7 separate regions of the Homo sapiens genome follow, and regions 2, 3, 4, 5, 6 and 7 are each linked to region 1. Evidence: promoter capture Hi-C in 16 types of primary human blood cells and fetal thymus (Javierre and others, 2016). All regions are on one chromosome and are shown on one strand. Each heading gives the region's core, a stretch centred on a gene start or on the middle of the fragment in contact. The rest is flanking DNA. Distances are from core to core; before and after follow the strand shown. Region 1 holds the start of MED13L (mediator complex subunit 13L). Region 2 overlaps MED13L (mediator complex subunit 13L). Region 3 overlaps MED13L (mediator complex subunit 13L). Region 4 has its middle 38 kb from the start of LINC02457. Region 5 overlaps MED13L (mediator complex subunit 13L). Region 6 overlaps LINC02457 (long intergenic non-protein coding RNA 2457). Region 7 has its middle 14 kb from the start of LINC02457.

What was found. Contacts are between HindIII fragments. The CHiCAGO score rates a contact against its expected background, and 5 or more counts as called.
Region 2: a contact is called between a fragment that was not itself captured here and the fragment with the promoter of MED13L in region 1, in 16 of 17 cell types (naive B cells, naive CD4 T cells, total B cells and 13 more). The highest score is 16.6, in naive B cells.
Region 3: a contact is called between a fragment that was not itself captured here and the fragment with the promoter of MED13L in region 1, in 6 of 17 cell types (monocytes, naive CD4 T cells, non-activated CD4 T cells and 3 more). The highest score is 9.3, in monocytes.
Region 4: a fragment that was not itself captured here is called in contact with the fragment with the promoter of MED13L in region 1 in 15 of 17 cell types (monocytes, naive B cells, neutrophils and 12 more); the score reaches 18.6 in monocytes.
Region 5: a contact is called between a fragment that was not itself captured here and the fragment with the promoter of MED13L in region 1, in 13 of 17 cell types (neutrophils, monocytes, naive B cells and 10 more). The highest score is 12.8, in neutrophils.
Region 6: a fragment that was not itself captured here is called in contact with the fragment with the promoter of MED13L in region 1 in 15 of 17 cell types (monocytes, M0 macrophages, naive B cells and 12 more); the score reaches 21.0 in monocytes.
Region 7: a fragment that was not itself captured here is called in contact with the fragment with the promoter of MED13L in region 1 in 8 of 17 cell types (monocytes, naive B cells, total B cells and 5 more); the score reaches 13.9 in monocytes.

The regions. Positions count from the first base shown.
Region 1 is chr12:116,276,061-116,279,397 of GRCh38, forward strand. MED13L (mediator complex subunit 13L) reads right to left here and starts at 1,633. Exons shown (of 31, transcript NM_015335.5): 1 at 1,000-1,633. The coding sequence starts at 1,071. RefSeq lists silencers at 1,462-1,931, 1,982-2,041. The HindIII fragment of the contact is 4,130 bases long and covers 358-3,337 here.
Region 2 is chr12:116,062,232-116,065,434 of GRCh38, forward strand. The region is part of intron 4 of MED13L (mediator complex subunit 13L); the gene reads right to left. Among named protein-coding and RNA genes, the nearest start is that of MIR620, 85 kb to the right of the region's middle. The HindIII fragment of the contact is 1,761 bases long and covers 572-2,332 here.
Region 3 is chr12:116,085,636-116,089,072 of GRCh38, forward strand. The region is part of intron 4 of MED13L (mediator complex subunit 13L); the gene reads right to left. Among named protein-coding and RNA genes, the nearest start is that of MIR620, 61 kb to the right of the region's middle. The HindIII fragment of the contact is 359 bases long and covers 1,089-1,447 here.
Region 4 is chr12:116,476,629-116,479,611 of GRCh38, forward strand. No RefSeq gene overlaps it. Among named protein-coding and RNA genes, the nearest start is that of LINC02457, 38 kb to the right of the region's middle. The HindIII fragment of the contact is 5,605 bases long and covers 1-2,983 here.
Region 5 is chr12:116,042,214-116,045,331 of GRCh38, forward strand. All of the region lies in intron 4 of MED13L (mediator complex subunit 13L), which reads right to left. Among named protein-coding and RNA genes, the nearest start is that of MIR620, 100 kb to the right of the region's middle. The HindIII fragment of the contact is 7,745 bases long and covers 1-3,118 here.
Region 6 is chr12:116,516,713-116,520,009 of GRCh38, forward strand. LINC02457 (long intergenic non-protein coding RNA 2457) reads left to right here. Exons shown (of 3, transcript XR_001749339.3): 2 at 106-1,178; 3 at 1,546-3,297. Among named protein-coding and RNA genes, the nearest start is that of LINC02457, 2.5 kb to the left of the region's middle. RefSeq lists enhancers at 1,657-2,157, 2,158-2,658. The HindIII fragment of the contact is 887 bases long and covers 1,077-1,963 here.
Region 7 is chr12:116,500,309-116,503,370 of GRCh38, forward strand. No RefSeq gene overlaps it. Among named protein-coding and RNA genes, the nearest start is that of LINC02457, 14 kb to the right of the region's middle. The HindIII fragment of the contact is 6,891 bases long and covers 1-3,062 here.

The DNA.
Region 1 (3,337 bases), core at 383-2,882:
CCACCAAATGTCACTGACACCGCCAGGAAAAGAGTTGCTGGAGCCCTATACATTTTTAATTTCGATGAATCTAGACACCGTCGGCGGGTGCCAGGCTTCCACGAGAACAATTGACACCCTAACTGCTTCAAGATTAAGGCAGGCGATTCAAATCCGAAGGAAAAGTTGTCAATTATCAGAAAGAGAGAGCGCGAGAGAGGCGAAGGCAGATAAAAGCGATGTTATCAAACCGACCAGCTTGTTGCTTTTGTGTGTGTGTGTGTGTGTGTGTGTGTGTGTGTGTGTGTGTGTGCGGATTCGTTGTTAGGATAGAGAAAAACAGTTTTTAAAAGACACAGGAGGAGAGAAAGAAGAAAAAGCTTTCTCCACCTTCCGTCGGCTCGGTGCAATGGCTTTACGGCTCTCCAGCATAGTAAGCCCCGAGAGGCAGGCGGCTGTCGATGTTTACAATCGCGGGAGCTTCGGGTGCAAGAGTCCTTTCCTGACACAATCGCATTCAATCAACTATTTTAGGGCGAAATTGCAGGTGTCATTATGGAATTTAAAAAAATTCAAAAGGCAGGCGGGCGGGCAGGCAGCTGATCCAACAACGGGGGAAGAGGTTGCCGATCGGAGGCGCGGCAGCACAAGGCAAAGCCTTCCACATTTACGGGGGGAAAAAAAGGGGGGAAAGGGGAGGAGAAGGGGAGTGCGATTGCAACAGAGGGTGGGCGTTCGAAGTGCGACCCAGAATCCGCAGCTCCGAGACTTCCACATGCAAATTCCACGCCGAGCGCCGCGCTCACAAATGATTTTTAAAGAGCCAAATAAACACTGGATGGGATCCAAGGCGAGAGAGAGACGATCCAAAAGGGGGAGAATCGGCGAGAGGCGAACGGCGGGGAGACGCGAGGGAGGGGCGAAGTCCCGGCGGCGGGAGGAGAAAGTTGGTCGGCGGCGGAGGTCGGGGACCCCCCCCCTTCCCCGGCACAGCCCCCTCCCCGCAGCCCGGCTACTCACCAGCGAAAAGAGGTTGGAGTGACAATCCTCCAGGCTCGCCCCGTTCGCCACCCAGTTCGCTGCCGCAGTCATGATCCTCCGCGAGCCCGGCCGCCAGAGCGGGGCATGTCGGAGCGAGGCGTCCGAGGCGAGGCCGGGCCGGGCGGCGGCGCCTCGCCGGGGAGCGCGGGGCGGCCGGGCCGCCGCCGCCGCCGGGGGAGGGCGCGAGGGCCGGCGGGCAGGCGGGAGGCGCCGCGGCGACGCCGCGCCGGGGGCAGCGGGCCCGGGCTGGCGGGGGGGGCGCGCGCCCCGGGCCGGCGCTGCGGGCCGGCCACCGCCTCCGCCTTCCCTGCTCCTCAGCCGCCGCCGCCGCCGCTGCTGCCGCTGCCGCCGCCTTGTTTATCTCCAGCCACCGACTCCCCCTCGGCCCCCGCCGGCGCGCGAGGGGAGGCGAGCCCCGGAGCCGCCGCCGCCGCCTCGGAGCCGCCGCCGCCGCGGAGCGCGAACTCGCGAAGGGGGGGGTGCGGACGAAGCCAGCGGGCGACCCCGGCAGCCGAGCGACGTCCCCTCCTTCCTCTTCCTCCCCCACCCCCCCCTCCTCCCCAGTCAGCCTCGCTTCTCCTCCCTCCCCGGGCTCGCTTGCTCTGACAGCAATGGCGGCCGCCGACCGCGGCTCGGCCCGCCATTGGCTGGCGCTTGGTCACGTGACGGGCGCCGGCCGCGCGGGGGGAGCGAGGGGCGGGCGGGGGAGGGGTCCGGAGTGGCGGCGGCGGCGGCGGCTCGCGGGAGGCGCTGCTGAGCTGAGCGCGGCCGGGTCCTCCGGCCGGGAAGAGGGAGGGAGGGAGGCAGAGAGGGAGAGAAAGAAGTGCGGGCGGCCGGGCTCCCCGGCGGGCGGCGGACTGCCGGCCCGTGGCTGCCGTGGGCTGCCCCTCGTGGCCGCCCCGCCCCCTCGCGGTGCACTGATCGTGGCGGGGCGGGACCGTGGGTCCCGGGCGCGCCCGTGGTGGCCGCGGAGGAGGGCGCGGGACCCCCGGCCTGTGCCCTCGCAGCCCAGGCCGGCTGGCGTGGCGCGGCGGCCGCGATGTGGGCCAGGCAGCGGGTCCGAGTGCCCTGGGGAATGTGTCCTCAGAGGCTCGCGCCGCCGTCCGCCTTTTGCAGAGGAGAAAACTAAAGCACAAAGGGATTAAATCACTTGCCCGAGGTCGCACACTTGGGAAGAGGAGTCCAGATTCGAACCCGCGCACAGTGAAGCCAAGCTCTTGGACAAGGTTTCACAGGCTTCGCCCAGGGATATTCACGGCTGCCATAGACGGAGCGCTTACTGTGTTCCAGACACTGTGCGTTTAATACAGAAATGTTTATTGAGCCCTTACTCCTAGTTACTGTGTGCACTCATTCATTCATTCATTCATTCATTACATAAATGTTTCCTGAGCTCCTGCTGTGTGCCAGAATCTGTTATAACTTCCAGGCACTGTGCTAAGGCCGTGTTGGGAGCAGACCCTTCTTCCTGGCGTCATTCATTGGATAACCAACATTTCCTGAGTGTATATGGCCTGGGAGTCCGGAGGAGTGCTGCTATGAAGAGAAGCTCTCCCAGTCCTCAAGAAATGGATCCCCGAAAAGGGGGAGGAGAAAACAATGTCTTCACTAATACGCCTCCAAACATGGAACAATCAGCTGTTTCAGGTAGATTAAGCTAAAAGAGGAAGAGTGGATGGCTGGCACAGTGGCTCACGCCGGTAATCCTAGCCGAGGTTTAAGACCAGCCTGAGCAATGTAGCAAGAACCCCCGTCATGACAAAAAAAATAAAATACAAAAATACAAAAATTAGCCAGGCGTAGTGTGGCATGTGCCTGTAGCCCTAGCTACTCGAAAGGCTGAGGTGGGAGGATAACTTGAGCCCTGGAGGCAGAGGCTGCAGTGAGCCCAGTGAGCCGAGGTCGCATCACCGTACTCCAGCCTGAGTGACAGAGAGAGGCCCTGTCTCAAAAAAAAAAAAAAAAAAAAAAAGGAAGAGTAGAAAGCAGGGAAGAGATGAGAGTGTATAATAAGAGAAGTCTTAAGACACGTGAACTGAGTTTTGGAACTACCACAAATACTGCTAAAGCAAAACTCATGAGCAACATGTTATAATGTGTATTATCATGCAACATATTGTTACAATGAATGTCGTTACCTACATTATTTCACATAATCCGCAGAACAACCACCTAAAGTAGATACTGTTATTATTCTTAGGCTGTAATTAGGTAAAACTCAGAGGTGTGCAGTGACATCTCCAATCTCTCAGTTAGTACATGGCTCAAACTCAGGTCCTTCTGACTCCAGAGCCCGAGCATGAATTCAGGAGGCTCC
Region 2 (3,203 bases), core at 202-2,701, 210 kb before region 1:
AACCTCCACCTCCCAGGCTCAAGTGATCCTTCCACCTCAACCTACAGAGTAGCTGGGACCATAGGCATGAATCACCAAGACCAGCTAATATTTTGTATTTTTGGTAGAGACAGTGTTTCACCATGTTGGCCAGGCTTGTCTCGAACACCTGAGCTCAAGCAATCTGCCCACCTCAACCTCCCTCTATTGGTTTTCTATTGAACAATATTACCTTCATAGGAAATGAATAGAATAGTGTCTCTCTCTCTCTCTCTGTGTTTTTTTTTTTTTTTTTTGAGATGGAGACTCACTCTGTTGCCAGGCTGGTGTGCAGTGGCGCGATCTTGGCTCACTGCAACCTCCACCTCCCGGGTTCAAGTGATTCTCCTGTCTCATCCTCCTGAGTAGCTGGCACTATAGGCATGCGCCACCACACCAAGCTAATTTTTGTATTTTTAGTAGAGACAGGGTTTCCCCATATTGGCCAGGATGGTCTCGATCTCTTGACCCTGTGATCCGACCAACTCACCCGGCCTCAGTATATTTTTAAAACAGAGGGGGAAAACACCAAAGTGGCCCAGGTTGGAGTGAAAGCTTTTTTCACTGAGATGGCCTCACAGACCAGCACACAACATGGAGTCCCAGAGGTCTTCAGACCCTGGCTGAAAGCTGCTTTCTCTATGCCAATCAAATCTGTAAAGTACAAGATGTCCTGTACCCAAGTGGAGATGCTTTTGTGTCTTTGCTGCTTTCTTCCAAAATACTGGCTCTTCCTCCTTTTTGTCTACTTTATTTCTCAAAATAAGTTGTAGATCATTCTTGGAGGCTCAACGCAGCCCAAAACAATCTTACTCTGCAATGCCCACCCAGGCCCTTAGCACAGCAGCTGGCTATTTGATATCCAATTTAGGGCATTTCTGTCTTCTTTCCCCGCCCAGTCTCATCCATAAGAGCAAGGTCTGTGTTAGCCCCTGGGCAGCCCAGAAGACCACTTTTTTGTACTGATAGTAGATAATACATATATAACTGGCTTGAGGGAGGAAAAAAATTAAGCATTGTTTTGGGCCAGTGCAGAGGATCCCTTAAACTCAGGAGTTCAAGACCAGCCTGGGCAACACAGGGAGCCCTCCTTTCCACTAAAAATAAAAATAAAAATAATTAGCTGGGCATAGTAGCCTGTGCCTCTAGTCCCAGCCACTTGGGTGGCTGAGGTGGGAGGATTCCTTGAACCCAGGAGATCCAGGCTACAGTGAGCTGTGATCGTGCCACTGCACTTCAGCCTGGGCAACAGAACAAGACCCTGTCTCAAACAAACAAACAAACCAAATCAAAAAGCATTGTTTGGATATCTAAGCCACTGTTTCCTTCGAGTATTAATAATCTAGTTTTATGTACCTCCAAAACTGACTCTCACTGACCTAGATAAATGGTTATTATAAGCCTTAAGACTCATCAGGCAAAAGCCTTTTTTAACCACCACTACCTCCAAGGAAAAAAACTGTTTATCAAAATACACACCTTTAAAATTTTTCTAATACTTAGTATCATTATGGTACTGTTGTGATATTACTAATACAAAAATATAAACAGTGGTAGAGTCATCCCACTGTACCTACGGGGGATTGGTTCCAGGGCCCCCACACAGATACCAAAATCCACAGATGCTTAAGTGCCTTATATAAAATGGTCTGGGCTGGGCGCATGGTTTGTGCCTATAATCCCAGCACTTTGAGATGGTGAGGTGGCCGGATTGCTTGACTCTAGGAGTTGGAGACCATCCTGGGCAATGTGGCAAAACCCCACCTTTACAAAAAATAAAAAATAAAAAAATTAGCCAGGTGTGGTGGCACATGCCTGTAGTCCCAGCTACTCAGGAGGCTGAGGTAGGAGGGTCACTTGAACCTTGAGGTTGAGTCTGCAGTGAGCCACGAATGTGCCACTGCACTTGGGTGACAGAACAAGACCCCGTCTCAAAAAAAAAAAAAGTCTAGTATTTGCATACGACCTACACATATCCCCCTGCATACTTCAAATCATCTCTAAATTACTTACAATACTGAATACAATGTAGATGCTATGTAAATAGTAGACTGTATTATTGGGGGAATAATTACAAGAAAAAAGTCTGTACATACTCAGACTTAGCCAACCGAGTATGTACAGACGTACTTTTTAAAAATATTTTCAATCTGTGGTTGGTTGAATCCTTGGAGGCAGAACCCACCGATATGGAGGGCCAGCTGTACTTATTTCTTATGAAAAGAGGTCAATTTGATTAAGTTTCTCTGTTCCTAAAAAATTTGGAATCTGGGGCCCCAGATGCCTGGGGAAGAAAGTATGACCGAAAGCAAGAAGCTTTAACAACAGCTTACTTGATGTCTCAGCTGGAGAAGGGAGTTCCCAGGGTCTCATTAATACTCAGCAAGTCTAACAGTGAGCTACTTTGGTGAAGGCAAACAAGGAAGACTGCTTAAACACACAACAAAGCAACTAAACCTTCTACGGTACTATACTGCCAAAAGGGCAGCTTCTTCTCCTTACAGCTCTTCCATCTGACACTGGTACGGCACTGAGACTCGTCACACCATTATGTACCCAATCTCCACATTGTAGAGCATGACTCAACTATAAATGGTATGAGGACAAGGGCCCCATCCATTTTGTCCACTGTTACATCCCCAGCATCTAGCACAATGTGTGGCATATAGTCCGCTTTAAAATAAATATATGTGTCTATATGTATATACAGTCAAGCAACAATGGAAGTACCTTCTAAGAAAAGCATCACTAAGTGATTTCATTGCTGTACAAACAACACAGATTGTACCCAGACAAACCTAAATGGTATATATTTTTTATTTATATAAAATTTTATAGGGAAAATCAAATGTCCCAGCAACATTATTAAATATTAATTATACCTCTTACTTGATCTGCAATGCCAATATCAAGTGCCATACATCAGGTTTCTACATATGCTCCACTATAATCTTTTGGGACTATGTCATATATGGAGTCCATAGTAGGCTGAAGTGTCATTATGCAGTGTGTACGTGTGTGTATATGTGTTTGAAAATAATGTTTACATGTATGGTATGCTCTTAAATAAGGACCGGGAGGATAGCAAAAATAATACACACACATATGCATATATATGCTGAGTATAATAAATAGATGGCAAAAATAAAGAAAAGTATTTTACCACTTCACTTTCACCATCATAG
Region 3 (3,437 bases), core at 18-2,517, 190 kb before region 1:
ACTGGAAACTAAAATAAATGATTTTATATTAAAGATTCAATTTAGGAGTAATGTAGGAATGGGGAAAGGAGAAAGACTAAATTCTCATCTTCTAAATTCAAGAGAAGATTAAAATCACTCACACACACACACACACACACACACACACACACACGACATTAAGAACAGCAGAATAAACATGTTATTGATAAATTTAGAGGTAAAATGCCAGAAGAAACAGAAATCTTACTTCAGGGGAGCAACTCAAAGAAGAGAGATGGAATTTAACTTGAATTGCCAGGGAAGACAGAGTGGGTGGGAGAGAAAGAATATGAACAATGAGAAAATGAGTTTAGACTATGCTAGAACTGTGAAGGACAACTCTGGCTGGATAAAATGGCTTCTGCTGGGGAGCAGAAATGCTAGACAACGCTTGGGCGATCCCTACACAATTGACACCACATTATGTTCTTCTATTGGAGAGTGCTTCACCAAAAGTAGTCTAACCAAAGTATATACGAGGGCAGAGTGATTTGAAACAAAAGAAACTACAAGTCAAGAGACATAGGCAGAAGACAACAAAAACAGACCTAACATTCTATCAAGGAGGCAGCTCCACAGTTTCCGTAAAATGTAGTATTTTAATTTAGCAGTTTTCCACGATAATTCTTTTTTTTTTTTTTTTGAGACAAGAGTCTCATTCTTGTTGCCCAGGCTTGAATGCAACAGTGGGATCTCAGCTCACTGCAACCTCCGCCTCCCGGGTTCAAGCGATTCTCCTGCCTCAGCTCCTGACTAGCTGGGATTACAGACTTGCACCACCACGCCCAGCTAATTTTGTATTTTTAGTAGAGACGGAGTTTCTCCATGTTGGTCAGGCTGGTCTCAAACTCCCGACCTCAAGTGATCTGCCTGTCTCGGCCTCCCAAAGTGCTAGGATTACAGGCGTGAGCTACTGTGCCCGCCCCATGATATTCTTTAACCATAAATATCAAGCTATTATACTTCAATCTTATACAACTGTTAATAAAATCCTAAATGAAGCATGCAAGCCACACTTAACAGGTTCTCAGAGACAGATCTAATAATTTCTACGAACCATACTTAAAAGCTTTATTTTTATAACATCATTTAACACTCCACAACAAATAGTCATATTGTTATAATATACATTATGCATTTTCAAAATTTTTTCCTTTGACTCCATAAAAGGATAGCAACAGAACCACAATGCTAGTAAACACCATATTTTCAAATTCATACCAAAATCATGGTGATTTCAAACATTTGGTAAGACTACTTCTTTAAAATTAGAAAACAGCTGATGTCATTATTTTAGGGGTAAAATCAGTATACGATATGACATTTCTTATATTGCCATTATGTAGAAAGATTTATAGTAGAAACACCTACCTTATTTAATGCAAATTGTGTATATAAAAACTGATTCACAAATATTTGATTGGCAAGCTTTCTCTAGTACAAGAAATTACCAACATCATAAAAAATTCTCCTTATTTTTTTCTAAATATTACTACCACCAGTTTCACTACTAATAGCAAACAGCTACCATTACACAATAACCAGATGTTAGGTTCTGTATTAGCTACTTTATTTATGCTATCTTATTCAATACCATAAAATTCATCACAAAAAAGGCAAGCTTAAGTGAGTAATTTCAAGCTTAATAGAATTTATGTAATCTTTTTCTTAACATTTTAAATTGTTTCCTTAAACTAATGAGGAAAAAAATGTTAGAAAAAAAAGTGTAAAGTCAACCAAAAGCAAAAATATGAAACTGTATTCTTAACCATCTTTCCAGAAATGAATATTCTTGTCGAAAGAGAAATGTTCTGAAATCTAACTCTAATCTACAATGCTTTCCCCCTGCTGCCAAGTTGCTACACAGATGCCACAGTCAGAAAATTTTACCAAGTGTGATCACACTTTTCAAAGAAAGGACCCCATTTACTAACAGCACACTACGAATCAAACAGGCAGCCATCCCTCAATCGCCTCCATTCCCCTTACAATCCTATCATCTGCCTTTCAGCCTTGTTTGGTCACCTCCCAGACCTTCCTTCCTCTTACTGGTCTGTCTCATTTCTCATCATCCTACCTCATTCTGCAAAAAAAAGTTCATAAGGGCTGTTAAGAAACATTTGTATAGAGCACTAAAAGTGCATCAGGAAAAGGTTTTATATAAATGTTAACTCCAAATATATAATAAAGATCTTTTATGTCTATACATTTTTTAAAAGATGGTACCCTCCTTGACAAAGGATGGTATGCAACGTCAAGTTTTACATCCTAAAATACGTATCAGGTTCCCCATCCAGTAGTACAAAGTAGTTCCTTCCACTCCAACATGACACTCCCTTTAAATAACAACTATAAATTATGAAGAAGATATTAAAATCTGCAAAAACCTGAGTTACCAAATGCAGGAAGATCCTGGGGGAGGGGAAAGAGTTTACCACCAGAAGGAGGAAATGGCACTGAATCAATCATCCTCATTCTCATCACAGTTGTCCACCTACCCCTCCACCCCCCTTTTTAAACAGTTTGTAGCATAGGGCAGACTGAACCACAACAGCTAAAACTAACAGAAACCCGACCTTGGTTCTTAGTGGCAAAGAACCAGAGGACTGAGTTAAAGAGACCACAGCTGCTGAAAATGAGAATAGAAATTCTGGAAAGAAGAGAATCAAAGACACAAACTCTGCCCAAATCTCTGGCCAATTCCTACACTATGTGCATGGTGCAGGCTCTCAACAGCCCTCGGAAGGCTAAAACAGTGGTTTTCAACCAGGGGTGACTTGCCCTCCCAAGGAAAATCTGGCACTATCTGGAGACATTTTGGGTTGTCACGACTGAGGGAGGAGGGTGTGACTGGCATCAGGTAGGGAGAGATCAGGGATGCTGCTGAAAATCCTACAATGCACAGGACAGCTCTCACAATTATCCAGCCCAAGAATCAACAGTGCCAAGGCTGAGAAACCCTAGGATAAAAGAAGTAAAGAAATTTCAGCTTCTGCCCACCACAAAAGAGACAATAGTTTGGAATCTGAATTCAGCCAAAGTTAACCCCTTGCTTAAAAAAGAAAGAAAAGAAAAGAGGAGAGGGGAGGGGAGGGGAGGGGAGACCAAAATTCAGCCAAAATTAACTCCTTGCTTAAAAAAGAAAAAAAAAAGGAGAAAAGAAAAGGCCAAATCAACAACACGTTCAAAGATAACAGAATCCAGTCTCCACACTATATCATTGTTCAGAATATAATTCAAAATTATTCAACATATGAAAAAACAAGAAAAATCTAACCCATATTCAAGAGAAAACACAACCAATGGAGAAAAATCCAGATTTTTTTTAGTAGCAAAAATCTGTAAGCAATTATTGTAAGCAGCTTAAGGACATAAAGGAAAATGTGCTCACAATGAATAAACAAATACAAAATGAC
Region 4 (2,983 bases), core at 170-2,669, 200 kb after region 1:
AGGAACTGATTGAGAAGTTTGCGCTGCTGCCATGTGACACAGCCATTGGGAATGAGGCAAAAGTGTGCGTGCATTGACATAGAAAGGCGTTTTTGATGTACTGTAGAGAAAACAAGCAGATGATAACAAAGCCTTGTGAAACATTTTAGAAGTGTGTATGTGCGTATGTATAGAAAGAAGGCTGATGGCCAATAAACGCACGAAAAGATGCTCAGCTTCGCAGTAATCAGGGAAATACAGAGTAAAATGATGCACCACGCTCACCCACGAAATTGGGCACATGCACAAAATTAAAGATTGATCATTTCCACTCTTGGCAATAGCACAGGGATCAGATCTTCTCATGGACTGCCAGTAGAAGTATAATTTGGTACAGCTTTTTTGGAGAGGAATTTGACATTTATTTATTTATTTATTTATCTATGAGATGGAGTTTCACTCTTGTTGCCCAGGCTGGAGTGCAATGGCATGATCTCATCTGACCACAACCTCTGCCTCCTGGGTGCAAGTGATTCTCCTGCCTCAGCCTCCCGAGTAGCTGGGATTACAGGCCTGCACCACCACAGCCAGCTAATTTTGTATTTTTAGTAGAGATGGGGTTTCCCCATGTTGGTCAGGCTGGTCTTGAACTCCCAACCTCTGGTCCTCCACCCACCTCGGCCTCCCAAAGTCTTGGGATTAGAGACGTGAACCATCGCGACTGGCTGAAAATGTTTATTTTTAAGAGAAGGGTCTTATTCTGTCACCCAAGCAGGAGTGCAGTGGAACCATCATGGCTCACTGCTGCCTTGAAGTCCTGGCTTAAGTGATCCTCCCACCCAGCCTCACGAATAGCTAGAACTACAGGTGTGCATCACCACACCCAGCTAATTTTATTATTTTTAATCTTTTGGTAGAGATGGGGTCTCCATCTGTTGCCCAGGCTGGTTTCAAACTCCTGGCCTCAAGCAATCCTCCCACCTCAGCCTCCCAAAGTGCTGGGATTACAGGCGTGAGCTACTCTGCAAAGCCTAGAATTTGACAATTCTGTCGAAATTTAAATTTCATATTACAGTGCCTCTAGAATTTCACTTCTATGAATCTATCCCACAAAAGTACTTGCACAAGTGGACAAAGATGTATGGTTTGTGTTAGTGATAAGTTGGAAATGACCTGAATACCCATCAGGAAAGAGTGGGCTTGCCAATTGCAATTTGTTGATGTAGTAGAATGTTACCCAGTTGTCAAAGAAAATAAGGAAGATTTAAACGAGTTGATATGTACAGCTCTCTAGGATAGGTAAAGAAAACCAAATCACAGAAACGTACATATTGCATGAATTTGTCTATGGATTTTTTATTTTTATTTTTTTTTTTTTTATGGAGATGGAGTTTCACTCTTGTTGCCCAGGCTGGAGTGCAGTGATGCAATCTCAGCTCACAGCAACCTCCGCCTCCCGGGTTCAAGCAATTCTCCTGCCTCAGCCTCCTGAGTAGCTGGGATTACAGGCATGTGCCACCACACCAGGCTAATTTTTGTACTATTAGTAGAGACGGCGTTTCACCATGTTGGCCAGGCTGCGCTCGAGCTCCTGACCTCAGGTGATCCACCCACCTCAGCCTCCCAAAGTGCTGGGATTACAGGCATGAGCCACCATGCCTGGCTTTTTTTTTTTTTTAATACTACATATATAGCTGTATACACATACAGGTCTATCAATGTATGTGTTATCGAACACGAGGGGTTCGGTCTAAGCCCTGTTGTTTGCTGCACAGAAAGCCAATCACTGAGACAATGAGTATTGCCAAGGAAGAAGCCTTTAATCGGGTGCTGCAGCTGAGGAGATGGGAGCTCAGTCTCAAATCCATCTCCTTGACCAACTAAAATCAGGGGTTTATATAGCAGGGAAGAAATGTAACCACGTGTGGGAAAACAGGTGTAAGGAAGAGGAGGTCAACAGGAAGCAGGTGGTCAGTTAGGCCATCATGTCTTGTGAGGGGACTGACATCTCATTGTCCAAATGCAGTGACCTGGTAAGTTTTAGCTCCTTGATACTATCTGGGAGGCCTGATGACTGGTTTCCTGAGAAAGGAACTCTGATAAGACAATTGTAACTTTCTCAAGTTTTAAGGCTAGGAGGATCGGTTTCTATGCTTATTCAAAGAAACCATAAACATCAGTTCTATAGGACAATTGGGTGAGTTTCATATGGACCAAGTTCTGACAGACTCACACTAAACAGTTAATAGTGGTTATCTCTGTGAAGGATTGGAGGAAAAATATAAGCACTTTCTCTCTTATATTCCACACTTTTTAAACAGTTTGCATGCACGAATGTAATACTTGGCTGATTTTTTTTTAAAAAAAACAAACAAAAAGAACCATGGAAAGATGTGCACACGGAGTCTTTCTGGGCAGAGGGGTTATGGGTGATTTTTTTTAGTTTCTTGTGGCTCGTCAGGATTTTTCTGCTTTTTCTACAATGAACATGTGTTAACTGTGCTATTTTAAAACATTTTTAATTGTAAGAGGAGTAATAGTAACAGAAACATGTACAAAGGCATTTAAATAGAGACAGCTAAGCAAAGTATAGAACATCGCTCTCTAGCTTTAAGAGTTCTGTGATCTAATGGGGTTCTGTCTCTCCATCTCTCTTGTCCCTAACACACGCCTACACATACACACTCTACAAGACAGGACATAGGCAGTAAGTGTTTCTGGAGGTCAAAGGATGAAGGGAGCTGTGTACAATGGGCGGCAGGGAAGGGGGACCGTGTCCTAGGGGCTGCGCTAGTTAGCACTGCCTTGTAGAAACAGGCAGGCTTTAATAGACGGAAACCCTCCAGTAATTGAAATGCTATTATCTGTGCTGGTGGCATCCTGCTCTGGGGATTAATGACCCTTGTTATCAATTAATTCTTCTTGGATTCCAAGCTAGATATTGGCTTTCACGACTTAAGTGGCTTTCTATCATGTTTATCCTTCATGGACGCGGAAACCTTTC
Region 5 (3,118 bases), core at 588-3,087, 230 kb before region 1:
AACTCAATATAAAGACTAGCTTTCTAACTGGGTTATTTAAAGAATAAACAGGCTTACAAGAAAGGTACCATCTTGGCTATCCCTGAAAGTGTAATGAAGGAAACTTGAGTGTTGGAAGGGATGAGGGGCAGGATGCCTTTAATGGCACCTTCAGTCCTATGATTCTGATGATTCTGTATCTTGATTCTCAGATAAGCTGTGCCTGTTTTAAAATATCCCATACAGGCTGATTACTCAGAAGCAGATAGAATAATGGAAGGCAAGGCACATCAAATTATAAGGGAAAGATGAGATGTGGTGAGACAAGGTAGAGAGAAATATCTTGAAGATACCATTCTAAAACTTGAAATTTATATTACTAGTAAAGCCACATATACATGAATTCTTAAATCAGCCCCCTGAATCAAACTTTTCTGCTTTTTTATTACCAGGAGTACTATTTGAAAGCAGAACTTACATGATTTACATTTTGTTTATAAAAGCAGCAATATAACAGAGGTGAATAAACACACATTTCTTCTCCCTGGAAAGGACAGATGAGGCTGATAGCGTAAAAAAAAACCCAGCATCCTGTCTGACTGAAGTATTAGCCTATGAGGTGGAATGAGAAAAATCAGTATTGTTTGAATAGAAATAATTATAAAAAGAAGGAAATTTTATCTGGGTATGGTGCCATTACACTGTTTACCCTCAAGAGCTGAAGTCTCAGTTCAATTCTTTCAAGGATAAAGGGCTATATTTACCCACTGTTAGCCGATGTTCATGTTAAACAAAGCCCTCACAGAACGTAAACTTTTAATTTTTTTATTCAGTAACATTTAACTTCTTTCTGTGCCTGGGGTCATCACTGGTAAGAATTCCAAGAAATATTCATTCTGTGGAGATACATTCAGCTATCCTGGAAGAAGAACTGTACCACCTTAAACCTCAGGAATGGTTCTATCCCCCTCTCCCATTTAATCATGATACTCTGAATCCCTTCTGCATCAATTATGCATACAATAGAGTACAGTACATAAAACCACAATAAGCAATACAGAAAAAAAAGGATTAAAGCCACGAAAAATGTATTAATTTATTCTATGCAATGCACTTGTAATTCTTCCACTTTCAGTCAAGATCACAGTACAGTTTAATAGTCTGGTTCAGGGACCAATTAATCCTTTTATATTTAAATCAATCACTGACTCCTCTCCGAATAATTTAGCTTCTACATGCTGCCTCCCATTTGATGTCTTTGGGGGAAAGAGCACAGTTAACACTATGTGGTACATTAATCATGTTTAGTAACAGAAAAAGAAATGCATTATCAGAGAAATCTAATACAAAAAGTAAAACATGCTCTAAAACATGTTAGGATAATCAGTACATGTGTCACATTTTTCTTAATAAAAGCAGGCAAGTTAAACTGGGAACCAAGAGTATACTCTTCATCTGGCTTTTCATAGTATGTGTGCATGCATGTATCTATTTATCTTGACTATGTATAAATAGATATCCAGGAATAAAGCCACTCAGCTCAATCCATACCCCTACGCACTGGCAGATTCTTCTCCATCCCAACCTAAAGCAAATGACTTGATGATGCTCAAACAGTGGGGAAGGGGAAAAGTAATAGAAAGGCATGTATTTTATTCAAACTGGCATATGTTTGGCACTTTGCCACAAAGCTGAGTCCTTTTCCTAGAACAACTCAGAAGCCTAATTAATAGGGTTAATTCAATGTAATATTCATGTGTAGTCTAAAGATTCTTACCACTGCATATAAAGCAGATGTCCATGTTTTAAGAATATTTTCTCTAAACAAATGTGTCAAGAAAGCATTAAGAGTTCATGTGACCAAGAATAACGCCATTGTACTATATGCTAGCTCTATTTTAACCAACAGCAAGAGAAGGAGGTCCTCTTTTTTGTTCCTGGATCTTAATCACAAGAATAAATCAACTTGGTATTCTAGTGCCCACCCCATGGATTACAAATGCAGGATTTAGTTTCAGAAATTTCAAAGCCAACTTAAGCACTTTTCAAATGTTCCATAAGTAAGTGTTTTCAAAAAAATTAACCAATTAAGTTTCTATGTAGATTCAGCACTGAGAAAAGTGAAGTCTGTATCTTGGCATAACCCGAATGTATTGCTGACTCAGGAGCTCTGCCAGTTCAAACAACTCCACACGAAAGAAAGCGCAAGTGAATGTTAGCTCTGTGTTCACTTCACACCAACACAGAGAAATCAAATGGTCAAAGTTTAAGACCAGCTCTGTGATACTAGTGGGAAGAAGAGTGAAAAAAGAGGCCATACTATAGGTGGAAATCCTAACTCCTAAGAACACACAACAGCATCTAAAGACAGATTCAAAAGCCTGGCTAGATTATCTCACTGAAGGAATATTTCTCTGAGCATGTGAGCTGAGACAACATTTGAGAATCTGGTAGACAACTATGACCCGCAAATAATCATCAGGTAGAAAAATATTGTCATCCTCACTAATCCCCGGAAAAGTCACATCAAAGAAACATCTGGAAAGAACCCAAGTCTTCTGTTTCTTTTTTAAGCCTCAGAATAGAACAGAACACCACTAATCAAGATTAAACAAGTGAACCAAAGCTCATCATCAAAAATCATCTCATCCCTAGAATATGAAGTTGTATCAGCTAACAAGCTACTGTCAACAGGATGAGTCTTGTGTCATTTTCATGGTGGCTTGGTAAATTTGGGTGGATCCATTCATACTCCTCTGTCTAGTTATGTCTGTCAAATGGTATGCAAACTGTATATGCAAAAAAGGGTATAGTAAGAGACCCTACAGATAACTACAAAACACACATAAATCCAAGGAGTTAAATGCAAGGAAAAGAGGGGGCCCCTCCTTCTCTATTTATTTGTTTGGGTAAAATGCACCGTTATATTTTAGTGACTTTCTCAGGCAGTAAATCCAAAGATGGAAAATATTACATGTTCTTTCTGGATTCAGTATAGAATAATGTTCAAAACGATAATAAAATGCCTAAAATCCTTTTGAACACTGGTGTTCCTTTCCTTTCTCTTCTCTGCTTTTAATCTGGTCATCCCAATCCTGGGCCTACATAGTACTGAGTCCCCCTGGCTGAGACAACAAAT
Region 6 (3,297 bases), core at 270-2,769, 240 kb after region 1:
TGCCTCTCCTCCCATGCTACCAAAAGCAGCTGGTTCAGTGGCCACTGCCATCTTCCCTTGTCCCTGAGCTTTGGAGATGACTGTGTTTCCTAACCTCTCCTGCAGATGCCAGGCGGAGCGGCGACGTGACGCACGGTGGACGAGGAGCCAGGATGCCCAGCTCTGCTACCAACACAGAGTGGGAATTTGCACACCTCACATGGTGTCAGTTTCCAAATGCTGCTGTAATCAATTTCCACAAAGTGGTGGCTTAGAAAAACAGACATGTATTCGCTGACAGTTCTGGAGCCCAGAAGCCTGAAACCAACGTGAGGGTTCTAGGGGAAGATCCTCATTTGCCCCCTCCCAATTTGGTAGTTCTGGGTGTTCCTTGGCTTGTGGACTCATCACTCCAATCTCTGCATCTGTCTTCACATTGCTTTCCCTGCTTCTCTGTGTGTCCATTCTCTGCATGTCTAATTTGTAAGGATATGAGTGATTGCATTTAGGGCCTACTTGGGTTATCCAGGGAGATCCCCTCATCTCAAGAAAATTGATCTAATCATGTCTGCAAAGACCCTTGATCCAGATAACATTCACAGGTTCTAGGGATTTGATTGGGATATCTTTGGGGTGAGGGGGGATATTTTTCAGCCTGCCACACCCACTTCCCTTCTTCTGGCCTCTTCCAGAAAATGATGGCCCCTCTGAGCCCCGAGTTCCCCTTCAGCTTTGAAGTTCTGCAGGTGATCCTCAGACAGCCTAGCCTGCATTGCCAAGTTCACGACAATGTTATCTCAATAGAGTACCTGATATTTTTTCAAAGCACTTTCCCATCTGTTATTTTGCTTCATGCTCCTGATCACCTCTCGGGGCACACAGGGCAATTAATATTAAACCCATTTAATTGATGAAACAACAGAGGCCCAAAAACTCCTAACTCACTTTCTCCTTGAGTTAGTCAGCTAATGGGAACCAGGAGCAGGCCAGGTGGTTTCCCAGGGCATGCTTTTTTTTTTTCTCTCTCTCTTTCATTGTATATAGCCTTTCACCACCACAGGCTTTGTTCTGGAAGCCCAGGAAGGTAGGCAAGTCAAAGCTTGTCATGTAGATCCAAGCCCACCCTGAATCCCTGATTCATATCCCCTGGAGAGTGTGGCAGGAACTTCATTTGCACTCCCTGTGGTCCCAGGTGGCAGGTAAGCTCTCAGTCTCTGGCTGTATACTGTTAGAGACCTCTTCTTCCCGTGGGTAGCTTCCCAAGCAAGGGGGTTTTCCCAAACCTCAAGAACTGCAGGACTATCAGACATTAGCAGAATTAGATCTGCCTGGCCTCCGGGCCAAAAAAAGATTTCAATTGTTTCAGGACAGATTAAATTCAGGACTGGGAATAGGGCAGGGGAGGTCTTTTTTCGCAGTCCCACCTGCCTGTGACTTGCAGATCTGGACGAAGAATTTCCTGTCCTAACTAGGCCTCAGTTTCCCTGAAATAACATCGATTAGGTGGGAGTGGGTGTGGGTCAGTAGGATTTCCTCTTACCCCCAGCCCTTTTCAATCTAATTCAGAAATGAGGATGAAGCCAAGTGTTTGGAGTTCTTGCGAAGAAAGATACAACAGCCACACAAGGTATTATTAACTTTATTACTTGTCAGGAAGAGGTGGGGGAAGCAGTTAAGATTCGGCTAGATGAGAGGTGAGTGTACTGCATTACAATCTCTGGAGGGTGTGGTGGGCATATGAGCTGGAAAGGACCATTATTTATTTACTACTTTTGTTAAGTGCCTGTAATGTGCTGGGTGCTATGCTGGATGTGTGTGTAACACAGACACATAAACCATTCAGGGTCAACCTTGCGTGGGTGGGAGGAGGTTAAAAGCACTTGCATCTTCTTCTCCCTGAAAACAGAAACATCTTCCTCCTTGGCCTACCATGGTGCCAGCAATCTCCAGCATTAGCGATGGCTCCTTGGGGGTAACCTGCAGAAGCTTCTTAACTGGGTTAAGGCATCTTATTACCTTGCAGGAGTAAGGCAATCGCCAGCTCACTGATAGTACACAATGATTTCGCTCATTCCATCCACTCTTGGCCATTGGTGCAGCAGGAAGGGCCTTGGGGTCCTCCAATTTGGACAGTGGGGAGGACTTGGCCCTGGGCTGACAGATTGCTGCTTGGCAGGTTTATGGGAGCCAGGCGTCAGCATGGTGTGACGTGGGGAGGCAAGAGTCAATGCCAATGCAGGCAGCCCCCTCCCACCAAGCAAAGCGGCTTACAGACTTCGGAGAGGAAACAAAACATCTACATGCAAATGTTGAACCAGATTTCAGAGCAAGAGAGCAACTTCAAGAGCCAAGGCAGTTCCAACTACCAGGTGTTTAATACCTTTTCAGCTTGGGTGGATCATGGATCTCTTTGAGAAACTGAGGAGACAGTCTTGGATTCTCTCTCTGTCTCTCTCTCTCTCCCCCACCTCCCCCTCTCTTGCACCTTCTTCTCCCTGCAAACAAAATCAGAGTCCTGCTCTGTCACCCAGGCTGGAGTGCAGTGGTGCCACCTTGGCTGACTGCTAGCCTTGAACTCCTAGGCTCAAGTGATCCTCCTGCCTCAGCCTCCCAAAGTGTTAGAATTACATGCGTGAGCCCCCACACCTGGCCTGGATCCTCTCTTTTGTAGAAAATGCACTTGCATAGCAAACACACACACACATACACACCTCTCACTTTTTTAATGAAATGTCAGGGTGTCTGCTGATGCCTGAAGCACATCCGAGGGCCGCAGTGAGATATTCTTCTTTGGAAGTGCTCAACAACCCTGGGAGGTAGGTGTGGCAGGGTCTCTTTTCATACACCATAAAACAGAGACCCAGAGGCAGCTCGCAACTTGCTCAGGTCATGTATTAGTGAGCATCAGAGGCAGGCCAGGACCCCCAATTGCACAGGTCTAGGAAGCACCATTTCATCCAAGTCTATGTTGCATGCCAAAGAGTGTCACTGACAGAGAACACAGTGAGACCACTGCTACCGCCCTGGAGTTAGGCAGTGCAGCAGCTCTAGAGGACCTCAGCCAGGGTCTTCTGATAACCATTTACAGGCATATATGCAAAAAGCCCCACGGGGTGACAGAGGTAAGGAGTCCTGGAGGGGGATCAGAGAGGGATGCAATTGCCGAAGACTTGGATGCCTAAGCTTGCAAATGGAAGACTATTTCTAAATCATTTATTCATTCCACAGCTTCATAGGTGGAGGTGATTCATAGGTGGTTCCTATGTGAATTTCAGTTCCCCTTCCCCCCGACCTAGAGTAAAATCCACACTCTTATTT
Region 7 (3,062 bases), core at 92-2,591, 220 kb after region 1:
CCAACTCTGCTGCTTGCCAGTTTGGGTGGCTGCTTGGGAATCATTTCCTCATCTTTAAATTGGACATAATGTCTTCCACCTGATGGAGTTCTTGGAGGATTAAATACAGGTGAAACACCTAGCACAGAGTATTAGGTTGGTGCAAAAGTAATTGCGGTTTTTGCCATTTAAAAGTAATAATTGGGCCAGGTGCGGTGGCTCATGCCTGTAATCCCAGCACTTTGGGAGGCTGAGGTCGGTGGATTGCCTGAGCTCCGGAGTTCAAGACCAGCCTGGCCAACATGGTGAAACCCTGTCTCTACTAAAAATACAAAAAATTTGCCGGGCGTGATGGCGCACGCCTGTAGTCCCAGCTACTAGGGAGGCTGAGGCAGGAGAATTACTTGAACCTGGGAAGTGGAGGTTGCAGTGAGTCGAGATCACACCACCAGACTCCATCCTGGGTGACAGAGCAAGACGCCATCAAAAAAAAAAAAAAAAGTAATAATTGGGCCAGGCATGGTGGCTGACACCTGTAATTCCAGCATTTTGGGAGGCCAAGGTAGGTGGATCACTTGAGGTCAGGAATTCAAGACCAGCCTGGCCAACATGGCAAAACCCTATCTTTACCAAAAATACAAAAATTAGCCAGATGTGGTGTTGGGTGCCTGTACTCCCAGCCGTTTAGGAGGCTGAGGCAGGAGGATTGCTTGAACCCAGGAAGCAGAGGTCGCAGTGAGCCAAGATCGCACCACTGCACTCCAGCCTAGGTGACAGAGTGAGACCATGTCTCAAAAAAAACAAAAACAAAAACAAAAATCATAAGTAATAACTGTTCAGTAAGTGATTGTTCTTTTTAAAAATCATGGTGTATGCCAGGCAAGATGGCACATAACTATTGTCCCAGCTACTCAGGAGGCTGAGGCAGAAATATAGCTTGAGCTCAAGACTTTGAGTTTAGCCTGGGCAATATAGAGGGACTGTCTCTTAATAAATAAAAGGTATAAAATACCTCATAAAATTTACATTTTAACCATTTTAAGTGTATAGTTCAAGTGGTTTTTCATACATTCAAATTGTTGTGTCCATAAGTATTTTTATCAATACTGCTATATTATGTCACAAGTCTTTTTTTGTTTGTTTGTTTTTCAAAAGAGGGTCTCACTTTTTCACCCAAGCTGGAGTGCAGTAGCATGATCATAGCTCACTGCAGCCTCAAACTCCTGGGATCAAGTGATCCTCCTGTTTCAGCCTCCCAAGTAGCCAGGAATACAGGTGTTCACCACCATGCCCAGCTAATTTTATTTTTTTGTAATTTTTTGTAGAGATGGGTTCTTGCTATGTTGCCCAGGCTTGTCTTGAACTCCTTGCTTCAAACCATCCTCCCACCTCAGCCTCCCAAAGGGCTGGGATTACAGGCTTGAGCCACCACACCCAGCTAATTTTATTTTTTGTATTTTTTTTTTTTTTGGTAGAGAATGGGTCTTGCTATATTGCCCAGGCTGGTTCTGAACTCCTTGCTTCAAACCATCCTCCCACCTCAGCTTCCCAAATTGTTGTGATTACAGGTGTGAGCCACCATGCCTGGCCTGTGTCAAATGTCTTAATAGTGTGGATTTTGCTAGAGACAGGACATGCTATTCTGAACCGGTCATGGACTTGCCTAGGTCTCTGCTTTCTCTAGTTCATTTCATCCTCTCAAGAATCCTGGGAGGTTTTCTCATTTCCATTTCTATTGGAGAGCTCTAACGATGTGCCCGAGGGCACTTGGCAGCAAGTGGCAGAGCTGAGACCAGCCCCCAGACCCACGGATCTGTCCACTACCTATCAATAACCACTTGCTGAATTGTGATGAACCCAGTCTGACCAAATCGCTTCTCTGAGGTTCTGACTTTGACACTGGGAGGGGCGTAGCTAAAATGAGAAAAGAGGCAGCCCCATTCCAGGACAGGTGAATGACATGGGAGCTCTGGCATCCTCAGCCCAGACAGCAGCACAGGGCAGGGGCTGAGAGAGCCTTGTCGAGCTGCTGATGTCTTTATGCAGCCAGGACTGACTCCACGGTAGCAGGCCCAGCATGCATCACCCCTGTGACAAATGATAAAGATCTCATTCGGCATACGAGATCCACTTGAGGAACTGAATGGAGACAATTGAAAAGCGCTCCACACCGGCCACTGAAGCTGAAGCCCGCAGAGCCGGATGATGTAAGGTCTTCTGTGTGGATTTGCTGATTCTGGAGATTTTAACTATTTGGGCTTTATTAGTCTCTGGGCCTCCTCGTGGGGAACTGAAGTGCTGGAACTCGGGGAAGACCTGACTTGTCAAGTCCATAGTATCAGAGCATTCAGACAGGCTGAGTGTCTGATTTCGGCCAATCAAGTTTCATTTTGAAGACTAACTATGATGGATTACGATGGCTTTCTAATTCCTCACTGCCTCCCTGGGAAACTTTTTTTTTTTTTTTTTTTTTTTTTGAGATGGACTTTCACTCTGTCCCCGAAGCTGGAGTGCGGTGGCACGATCTTGGCTCACTGCAACCTCTGCAGTTCAAGCGATTGTCCTGCCTCAGCCTCCCCAGTCACTGGGATTACAGGCATGCACCACCACGCTTGGATAATTCTTGTATTTTTGGTAGAGATGGGATTTTGCCATGTTGGCCAGGCTGGTCTCGAACTCCTGACCTTAGATGATCCACCCGCCTCAGCCTCCCAGAATGCTGGGATTGTAGGCGTGAGCCACCACGCCTCCTGGGAAACTCCTAAAGGGGCCCCTCTTCCGTATTTCCTTGTCCACAGGAACAAATATTTGCCCTTGCAATTAGATCCCTCCTACTGCCACCATTGCTGTATTTCAGCAATTCATGAGAGCCTGACAAATGCTAGTTAACCAGCTTACTGCAGTACAACTGACCCCTTGAGCGTGTGAGTGAATGTGACAAGTGGCTGGTGACATGCTCAAGTCACTCATTTGTGTCGCCAAGTTTAGCCATTTGACTGTGTGCTTCTAAGTTAAAGAGTGTCACCTCAGGTGATTCCAGTTCAAAGCGCCTTGGGAAACAATCATGAAATTAGCTGATAAAT